Linked DNA regions of Homo sapiens: region 1 is linked to region 2. Evidence: promoter capture Hi-C in human tissues and cell types (Jung and others, 2019). All regions are on one chromosome and are shown on one strand. Each heading gives the region's core, a stretch centred on a gene start or on the middle of the fragment in contact. The rest is flanking DNA. Distances are from core to core; before and after follow the strand shown. Region 1 overlaps DOP1B (DOP1 leucine zipper like protein B). Region 2 holds the start of CBR1 (carbonyl reductase 1).

Evidence for each region. The method cuts DNA at HindIII sites, captures the fragments that hold promoters and counts their contacts. A contact is called where the count stands out against the background at its distance.
Region 1: a contact is called between a fragment that was not itself captured here and the fragment with the promoter of CBR1 in region 2, in 1 of the 25 tissues and cell types used here (hippocampus).

What each region holds. Positions count from the first base shown.
Region 1 is chr21:36,263,508-36,268,415 of GRCh38, forward strand. It overlaps DOP1B (DOP1 leucine zipper like protein B), which reads left to right. Exons shown (of 37, transcript NM_001320714.2): 25 at 39-143; 26 at 241-307. Among named protein-coding and RNA genes, the nearest start is that of MORC3, 54 kb to the right of the region's middle. The HindIII fragment of the contact is 7,013 bases long and covers 1-4,761 here.
Region 2 is chr21:36,067,430-36,072,200 of GRCh38, forward strand. CBR1 (carbonyl reductase 1) reads left to right here and starts at 2,595. Exons shown (of 3, transcript NM_001757.4): 1 at 2,595-2,975; 2 at 3,521-3,628. The coding sequence starts at 2,687. It overlaps CBR1-AS1 (CBR1 antisense RNA 1), which reads right to left. Exons shown (of 4, transcript NR_040084.1): 4 at 2,213-3,056. RefSeq lists an enhancer at 2,651-2,900. The HindIII fragment of the contact is 9,879 bases long and covers 1-4,771 here.

The DNA of each region.
Region 1 (4,908 bases), core at 5-2,504, 190 kb after region 2:
TCGTGGTTGAGTATTTTTCCTATCTTTTAAAAAAACAGGCTCCCAGTACCAGCCTTGCAAGAGAACTTTTCTTCACTGTTGGGAGTATTGAAAGAGTCTGTACAGTTGAATCTAGCCCCACCTGGGTATTTTCTGCTTCTCAGGTATCATGTCACCACATTGTCATTGTGTAATATTTTCTCTTGGCACATATTTTATTTCTGCAGCATTTTTAATCTGAAGCTGATTGTCTCCCAACAGCATGCTGAATGACTTTGTAACAAGAACTCCCAACCTGGAAAACAAGAAGGACCAAAAAGACCTGCAGGTTTGTATATGAAAGAGGTTCAGCCAAATGATATTACCCCAGCAGTGCTGTCCTCCTTTGGGGGATATCAGATAGCAGGTAGACAAGAGACATTGGACAGAATCTGAGGTTAGCTTTGCACTTGTTCTCAAGTCTTACTTCTGCCATCACTGTCTCTAGAGAGTTCGGACAGTCCCGGGGCCCGGGTTTTCTGATGAAGGTTCTTGTGTAATGCTTGAGCAATCGATTGTGGAATTGACAGCTGCACCCCTCACCCTCCACACTGTATGCAGATGTATGTGGATCTCACTGTAAAACATAAATGGAATAAGAAATCTTATTTCCCCCCAGACGCGGTGGCGCATACTTGTAATCCCAGTACTTTGGGAGGCTGAGGCGGGCAGATTGCTTAAGCTCAGGAGTTTGAGACCAATCTGGGTAACATAGTGAGACCTCATCTCTACAAAAGTACAAAAATTAGCCTAGTGTGATAGCTACACCTATAGTCCCAGCTACTTGGGAGGCTAAGGATCCCTTGAGCCTGGGAGGTTGAGGCTGTAGTGAGCTGTGATCACACCACTGCACTTCAGCCTGGCAACAGAGAGAGATCCTGTCTCAAAAAAATTTTTTAAAAAAGGAAGCTATCTCCATACATGGATATTTCTTTTTTTCTTTTTTTTTTTTTTGGGCCAGGGGGTTGGACAGAATCTCACTCCATCACCCAGGCTAGAGTGCAGTGGCACGGTCTCAGCTCACTGAAACCTCCACCTCTGGGGTTCAAGCGATTCTTCTGCCTCAGTCTCCCAAGTAGCTGAGATTACAGACATGCCACCACGCCCGGCTAATTTTTTGTATTTTTAGTAGAGGCGGGCTTTCTCCATGTTGGCTGGTCTGGTCTCAGACTCCTGACCTCAGGTGATCCTCCTACCTTGGCCTCCCAAAGTGCTGGGATTACAGACGTGAGCTACCACACCCAGCCTCCATACATGGATTTCTTTCCTTAAACGCCTTATCCCCCATTATAACAGTAATATATGCTCATAACAATTTGTTTAATACTGAAAAATAAAACTCATCATAGGAGAAGGAAAACTCAGAGTGGAATGCCAACTAATAAATACGGAAGTTATGATGAAGTTGGAAAAATCACTGTTTTGCAAACCATTATAGACATTGATTCAGTTGGCTTTTCTATCACATTTATAGCCTTGGCGATACTACTGCTAATCTTTATGATCCCTGGCATTTGTGAAAGGTATATCCAGAAACAGCCTCAGGTCCACAGTTCTGAACCACAAGAGTACTGTATAAAGTGCAGTAGGCCGTGTGCGGTGGCTCACGCCTGCAATCCCAGCACTTTGGGAGGCCAAGGTGGGCGGATCACCTGAGGTCAGGGGTTCAAGACCAGCCTGGCCAACATGGTGAAACCCCACCTCTACTGAAAATACAAAAATTAGCCATGCCTGGTGGCGGATGCCTATAATCCCAGCTACTCAGGAGGCTGAGGCAGGAGAATCGCTTGAACCTGGGAGGCAGAGGTTACAGTGAGCCGAGATCTCACCACCGTACTCCAGCCTGGGCAACAAGCGTGAAACTTCGTCTCAAAAACAAAAAACAAAAAAACAAAAACACCATAAAGCATAATTAGAAAATTCCAGTGCCTCCTCCTTTGGCCTTGACTTGTAGCCAGAGAAGAAAACGTTACAATGCCGATGCTGCACGTCCAGGTGCTGGGATAGCACTTGCTCACCTAAGCCCTCCCTGCTTTCGTGGCCTGTTGCCTGTAGCAGGCCCCTCTGTCTTCAGCCAGCCTGGACAGGGCTCTGGCCACAGGCATTCCCTCCGTTGTTGCAGCTGGCATGCCTCTTCTCTGCTCCTTTTGGTTGCGGGGACCAGGTGGCATCTGCTTCTTTCTGTCTCATGACACCTGGCCTCCCCGCCACTAATTCCTTCCTACTGTTTTGAGCGACACCCTATGCTTCTTCCCCACTGAGGATATAGAAAAAAACAAAGTGTGATTTTCCTACCACACTCTCGTAACATAGAATCCTTCTGTGACCTCGTAACCAAAATGTGTGGGAATTGCTTCCCACCAGCAACCAAGCTAGTAGTTCTGCAGTGGACACTAGATAGGCACCGTCCAATTCCATTCAATTCTGGCATTCCCCACCTAGAGATAGCTTGAGATCCTGCAGGTTGAGGGCTCAGTCCCACAAGACTGCCCCACCCCCTCAGATGCCAATCACAAGCCCCAAGTGGTTTCATCTGTGCTTTTGACAGACCAGCTCTAAACTGGGGTTCTCACTACCCACCCCTTGGGTTCTGTTAATTAGCTGGAGTGGCTGATGGAACTCAGGGAACACATTGAACAGTTTATTTTATTTATTTATTTATTTTTTTGAGACAGAGTCTTGCTCTTGTTGCCCAAGCTGGAGTGCAATGGCACGATCTCAGCTCACTGCAACCTCCGCCTCCCAGGTTCAAGCGATTCTCTTGCCTCAGCCTCCCGAGTAGCTGGGATTACAGGTGCCCGCCACAATGCCAGCTAATTTTTGTATTTTTAGTAGAGGTGGGGTTTCACCATGTTGGCCAGGCTGGTCTCGAACTCGTGACCTCGTGATCCAGCCGCCTCAGCCTCCCAAAGTGCTGGAATTACAGGCATGAGCCACCACACCCGGCTGACCAGTTTATTATAAAGGAGATTAGAAAGGATACAGATGAAGCGATGATCAGGCAAGGTACGTGGGAAGGGGCACAGAGCTTCCATGCCCTCCTAGGGCACCACCCTCTAGGAACCTCCACATGTTTAGCCATCCAGAAGCTCATCCGAACCCAGTTACTTTGGGGTTTGTGGAAGCTTCATTACATAGGCATGATGGATTAAATCACTGGTCATTGGTGATCAATTTAACCTTTAGCCCCTCTCCCCTTCCTGGAGGTTGGGGAGCTGAAGTTCTCTGGGGGCCCCCAGCCACAACCATCTAAGACACGTATTACTTTGGAGAATCCAAGGAATTTAGGAGTTATAGCTGGGAAATGGGGAGAAAGGCCAAAAACATTTCCACAATATCACACCCGTCCACTCAGTGCTTTCATCAGTCCTTACGGGAACTCCTCTAAGCCCCTAATCCCTTTTCCTGACTTTCCTTGTGCCCTTCACACCCTGCCCTGCCTAAGTTAGCCAATTCGCCACTTCCCTCGAGCGCACCCTTCTCTCACCCAGCAGGCAGGTGTGCCCTGCTTCACACCTCAACACAACTGCTGAGCCTAGGAACCGTGTGGCACAGTTGAGGTCAGGATTATAAAATTCTCGGATGTCAAGGATTATAGCCACTCGTAGCTGGTGACACTTGATGACACTGGCTGAGAAGCCTGCTTCGAGTTTCTGTCTCTCCAGCTACTAACCAGATTCTTTACTGATCATACTCCTGAGAGTGGATGACTCCTCACTTCACCCCACTGAGTCAGTTTAACTTACTGACCTTTATTTCTTGTATATTATTGAAAGATGCATTTCTAGGAAGAACCCGTGGTCCTAGAGAAACCAGAAAGCCAATCCACTGAATACAATTTATGGTTTTTTCATCAGCGTGCTGCAATGACTTGTGTTCTCTGTATATTTTACCTACATTGGCCAGTATAGTAGCCGTTAGCCACAGGTGGCTGTTGAGCACTTGAAGTGTGGCTAGTCTGCAGCCTGGGCAACATAGGGAGACCCCATCTCTACAAGAAATTTAAAAATTATCCAGATGTGGTGGCATGCACCTGTAGTCCCAGCTACCTGGGAGCCTAAGGATGGCTTGAGCCCAGGAGGTCGAGGCTGCAGTGAGACTTTTTTTTTTTTTTTTTTGAGATGGAGTCTTGCTCTGTTATTGGGGGAACTCACCCCCAGTATTTCAATGTAGGTTCTTTCTATTTTCCGTAAGTGTCGGCCGGCTGAGAAATAAAGGGACACAGTATAAAGAGAGGAATGTTACAGCTGGGCCACCAGGGGTGACATCACGTATCAGTAGGACCGTGATGCCCTCCTGAGCCTCAAACCAGCAAGTTTTTATTAAGGGTTTCAAAAGGGGAGGGGGTGTAAGAACAGGGAGTAGGTACAGAGATCACATGCTTCAAAGGGCAAAAAGCAGAACTAATAATAAGGGTCTAACAAAGATCACATACTTTTGAGGGAACAGGACAAAGGGCAAAAGCAGAACTACTGATAAGGGTCTATGTTCAGCGGTGCACGTATTGTCTTGATAAACATCTTATCTTAACAGAAAACAGCGTTGGAGAGCAGAGAACCGGTCTGACCACAGATTTACCAGGATGGAGTTTTTCCCCACTCTAGTAAGCCTGAGGGTACTGCAGGAGACCAGGGCGTATCTCAGTCCTTATCTCAACCGCATAAGACAGACATTCCCACAGTGGCTGTTTATAGACCTCACCCCAGGAATGCATTCCTTTCCCAGGGTATTAATATTAATATTCCTTGCTAGGAAAAGAATTTAGCGATATCTTCCCTACTTGCACGTCTGTTTATAGGCTCTCTGCAAGAAGAAAAATATGGCTCTTTTTTCCCAACCCCACAGGCAGTCAGACCTTATGGTTGTCTTCCCTTGTTCCCTAAAAATCAC
Region 2 (4,771 bases), core at 1,345-3,844:
AAACAGCAGGACCCTCACCCTGTCCAAAGTTCCCTGTACACCATGTGCTATTGCTGACTGGCCCTCTTAATAAATTTAATCCATCCACTCTAACACTAACTCACACCAGCTACAGAAGACAGTAGCTAGTGCAGTGGAGAGAACCCAGCCAATGACAGACCCAACACGCACACACTGGGATAGGAAAGAAAATCCAAAACAGAGCTCTGAATTATCCTGAGTGGAAAAAAAAAAACCAAAAACAAAATACTACAAACTGTATGACTCCATCTATGTAACATTTTTGAAACAACAAACTTGTAGAAATGGTGAACAGATTAGTGGTTGCCATGAATTAGAGTTGGTTTGGGGAGTAACAGAGAGGTATGTTTGGTGATAAAAGTGCAACAGGAGGGCTCTTTGTGCTAATAGAAACATTTTCATTTAACTATAGTGGTGGATACACAAACCAACATTTGATAAAATTATATAGGACTAAATACATACACAAAGTACACATCAAACTGGGGAAATCTGAGTATGATTGGTGGACTGTTTTGTTGTCAATATCTTCACTGTGATGTTGTACTATACTTTTGCAATATGTTACTATTGAGTGAAACTGAGTAAAGGGTAAGGAATCTCTGTATTATTTCTTACAACTGCATGTGACTCTATAATTAGCTCGACAAAAATTTCAGTTGAAAAAAAGCAAGGGTCTTTCCTTGATTATTAACTTGTTTTAAAGCAACTGATTGGAAACCTACCTTGAAATTGCAATGTAATTGCAATCTATTTAAAGCAGTGGTGTTCAACAGACCTTTCTGCAAGGATGGAAATATCCTAAATCTGTACTGCCCAATACAGTGACCACTAACACATGCACATATTGAGCACTGGAGATGTGGCTAGTGCAACTAAAAAACTGAATTACAAATTTTGCTTAATTTGAATTTATGTTTAAATGGCCACCTGTGATAGTGGCAACCTATGGGACAGCACAGAAATGAAACTTGACCTTATTCCCAATTCCCTTGTAAGTAGGAAGGAGGAACACTCACTTTGAAACCATGCAATTGTCCCATAGGACAGATGTTTATGGTCTCTTTTTTTTTCCTTTTTTTTTTTTTTGAGAGGGAGTCACTCTGTTGCCCAGGCTGGAGTGCAGTGGCATGATCTCGGCTCGCTGCAACCTCCGCCTCTGGGGTTCAAGCAAGCAATTCTCTGCTTCAGCCTCCCAAGTAGCTGGGATTACAGGCGCCTGCCACCACACCCAGCTAATTTTTGTATTTTTTTTTTTTTTTTTTTTTTTTAGTAGAGATGGGGTTTCACCATCTTGGCCAGGCTGGTCTTGAACTCCTGACCTCATGATCCACCCACCTCAGCCTCCCAAAGTGCTGAGATTACAGGCGTGAGCCACCGCGCCAGGCCTGGTCTCTTTTGAATAAACAAATTGACCCTCCCAGTCTAAAAACTTGAGAAATTTACATTTGTCTTATCTGAGTTCCTTTCTCAGGGAACTAGCCATCAGTCCTCCCAGATAGCACCAAGGAACTGAAACTTATCGGATCACCACATCTGGAAAATCAGACACCAGACCCCTCACCTGCAACAATTGCCTGATGCCTGTTGACCCACTCCTCTTCATCTCTCCCTAACTCCTGCTATTTTCCCACATGCAGTTACATTTCTTCCCTGCTATATCCTAATTTTAATCAGTTGAGAAGATGGATTTGAGACTGATCTCTCCCCCCTAGGCTGTAGCACCCAAATAATGCCTTCTTCCCTGACAATAATGGGGTCTCAGTGACTGGCTTTCTGTGCTGTGAACCACCAGACCTAGACCAAACTCCTGGCATTTCTCTAACAATTTCCCACCACTGAACTAAGTTATAAATTCTGAGGATGGATCCCTGTTTCTTCATTTTAAGATGGGGATTAAAAGGTACATCCTAGAGTGTTATTGTCCGTGTAAAATAGGGCTGTGAAACCCCCTACACCTATGCACAGATAAACTGATGGCCCTGCAAATGCCCAGAGAAGTAACCTTATAAAGATTTAGTGAATGTTTCCCACCATTATTGGAAAATCTGGCTAAGTCAGTAGCTTTGTTTTCATATACTTAGGGGGAAAATCAACAAAAACTTGATGCCCTGTTATTTCCTTCCAGTTTCTTCTGCAACTCTAGCTCCAAAGACTGCAGTTCCTGCAGTATTTTTTTTTTTAGAACACCAGGAAAAAAAGAAAAAAAAACCATGCAAATGTACTATTTCTTCAAACACAACTAGGAATGATTGAACAGCTGGGAGAATATGAAGAAAACCCCTCAGAGAACCAAGGGCAAGCAGTGAGTTCAGATCTAGGCACATGGCCACTAGGAATGGTTCTTCACTGCCACGTGGGCAGCCAACAGCCAGTAGCTAGAGACCAGCCTCGGTCTTCGGCCTGCGGGTTCTGCAAAGTCAGGCTAGCTGGCTCTCCGCCTGCTCCGCACCCCGGCGAGGTTCCGGTGGGGAGGGGTAGGGATGGTTCAGCCCCGCCCCGCTAGGGCGGGGCCTGCGCCTGCGCGCTCAGCGGCCGGGCGTGTAACCCACGGGTGCGCGCCCACGACCGCCAGACTCGAGCAGTCTCTGGAACACGCTGCGGGGCTCCCGGGCCTGAGCCAGGTCTGTTCTCCACGCAGGTGTTCCGCGCGCCCCGTTCAGCCATGTCGTCCGGCATCCATGTAGCGCTGGTGACTGGAGGCAACAAGGGCATCGGCTTGGCCATCGTGCGCGACCTGTGCCGGCTGTTCTCGGGGGACGTGGTGCTCACGGCGCGGGACGTGACGCGGGGCCAGGCGGCCGTACAGCAGCTGCAGGCGGAGGGCCTGAGCCCGCGCTTCCACCAGCTGGACATCGACGATCTGCAGAGCATCCGCGCCCTGCGCGACTTCCTGCGCAAGGAGTACGGGGGCCTGGACGTGCTGGTCAACAACGCGGGCATCGCCTTCAAGGGTATGGGGAGGGGACGTGGCCTCCCCGAAGAAGAACCGATGCACTGGGGCTCCTGGCGTCTGCGGGGTCCATAACGCCTCCCTAGGGAGGAGAGGGAGGAGCTAGGAGATGCAGGGAGTGCAGAAACCTTGGAGAAAGTGAGAGTTTTCCAGCCAAAGGGAACTTTGTGTTTCCCTGGCTGGGACTCTTGGGGATCTTTTTCAGGTTTTCTGCAGTTTTTCTGAATTGAGCTTTAAGGCAACTGGATGGATTTTGAACTGATTTTAAAATAAACGACAAATTGCAAAAAGAAAAAATGGTTATGCCAAGATCCAGTGTGTGCACCCTTCATCCTCCTTCCCCCAATGGTGCCATCTTACAAAAATACTAGAACATGATCAAACCAGGAGATTGACATTGGCACAATACTGTAACCAGATACAGACTTACTTTAGGCAGAGGGCACTAAGTTTTTTTTTTTTTTTTTTTTTTTTTTTAGTATCATTGTATAGAATTTTACCCCATGGGTACAATGTATTAACTATGTTCTCTTTCTCTCCTAAAAGTTGCTGATCCCACACCCTTTCATATTCAAGCTGAAGTGACGATGAAAACAAATTTCTTTGGTACCCGAGATGTGTGCACAGAATTACTCCCTCTAATAAAACCCCAAGGTGAGTCTGATGGGAAACAGCGCACCTTCTCTTTGGGGCTTGATTTGGCCCCTGCTTGCCTGGGATTTCTCCTGCAGGCTCCTGCTTCCTCTCCATGCTGCACGTGCACTGACCTCTGTGCTTTTTCTCCTGCCAGCTGATATGTGCCATTTTGCCTCAGGACTTTGTCCTCACTTCTCCCACTCCCATGGCCATTCGTCCTCCCTGTCGCACTGGTCTTTGCACACCTGGCTGACTCTCATCCTTCAGGTCTTAGCTCAAACGTCTCCTGAGAGATGCTCTTTATTTGCTCCATTCCCCTCTGCGTGGGAGTCCATCCTGTACCCTTTCTCTGCTCTTTCAGAGAGATCTTATTCAGGCTGGTGGAGGCTTTACTACCACCAGTTCATTAGGCCCTTCTAATACCTGTCACCTGTCTGAAACACTCCTTAAGCTCCCAACCACATGGTTGTCTTGCTGCCTTTCCATCTCTTCCTGATGCCTTTCCCCACAATCTAAGATATTTCCAGAGGATCCCTATCCTTTTCCCTAAGTCGTTTGGGACACAGACCCCACCACCCACCCACCAGGATCCTGCAGGTCACCATGCCCCACCCCTCATAATCATTTACTAGGTCCTAGGAGTTGTGCCCACTGAGTTCCTCCTGAATCCGTCTCATTGCAGCTCTACAGCAGGCCCTCACCTGTCCCTCTGGACAATTGCAAACCCTCACAAGGCACCTCTGGTCTTGAGTCTTTTCCTCTTTTCCTTTCCCAGCATCCTGCGTACTGTCTGCATGGTCATGCCTCTCCCAAAATCCTTCAGGAGGAAAGTCCAAGCCCTTAGCATGGTTCACAGAGATGTCCATAATCTGCCGCTGCTTAACTCTGGGCCCATTTTAACTCCCCTTCAACGTGCTGAAGGTGCTGGACATGACTATCACATGTCTTTGGTTGTAAACTGCTGTGATAGTTACCCTAAGTAATGGGACAGGAGATGAACCCACCCATTAAATAACACAGCAATTAAGCAGCCACTTTTAGAAAAATTTAAATGTGTGGCTTCGAGTTGGGTACTTGCATGTACAGCTTACTCTCAGCTTTTATCCTGTTTCCCTGTCCTGTCGTCCTGTTAAGTTGTGCTACTTCTAAGGCTCTGGTTCA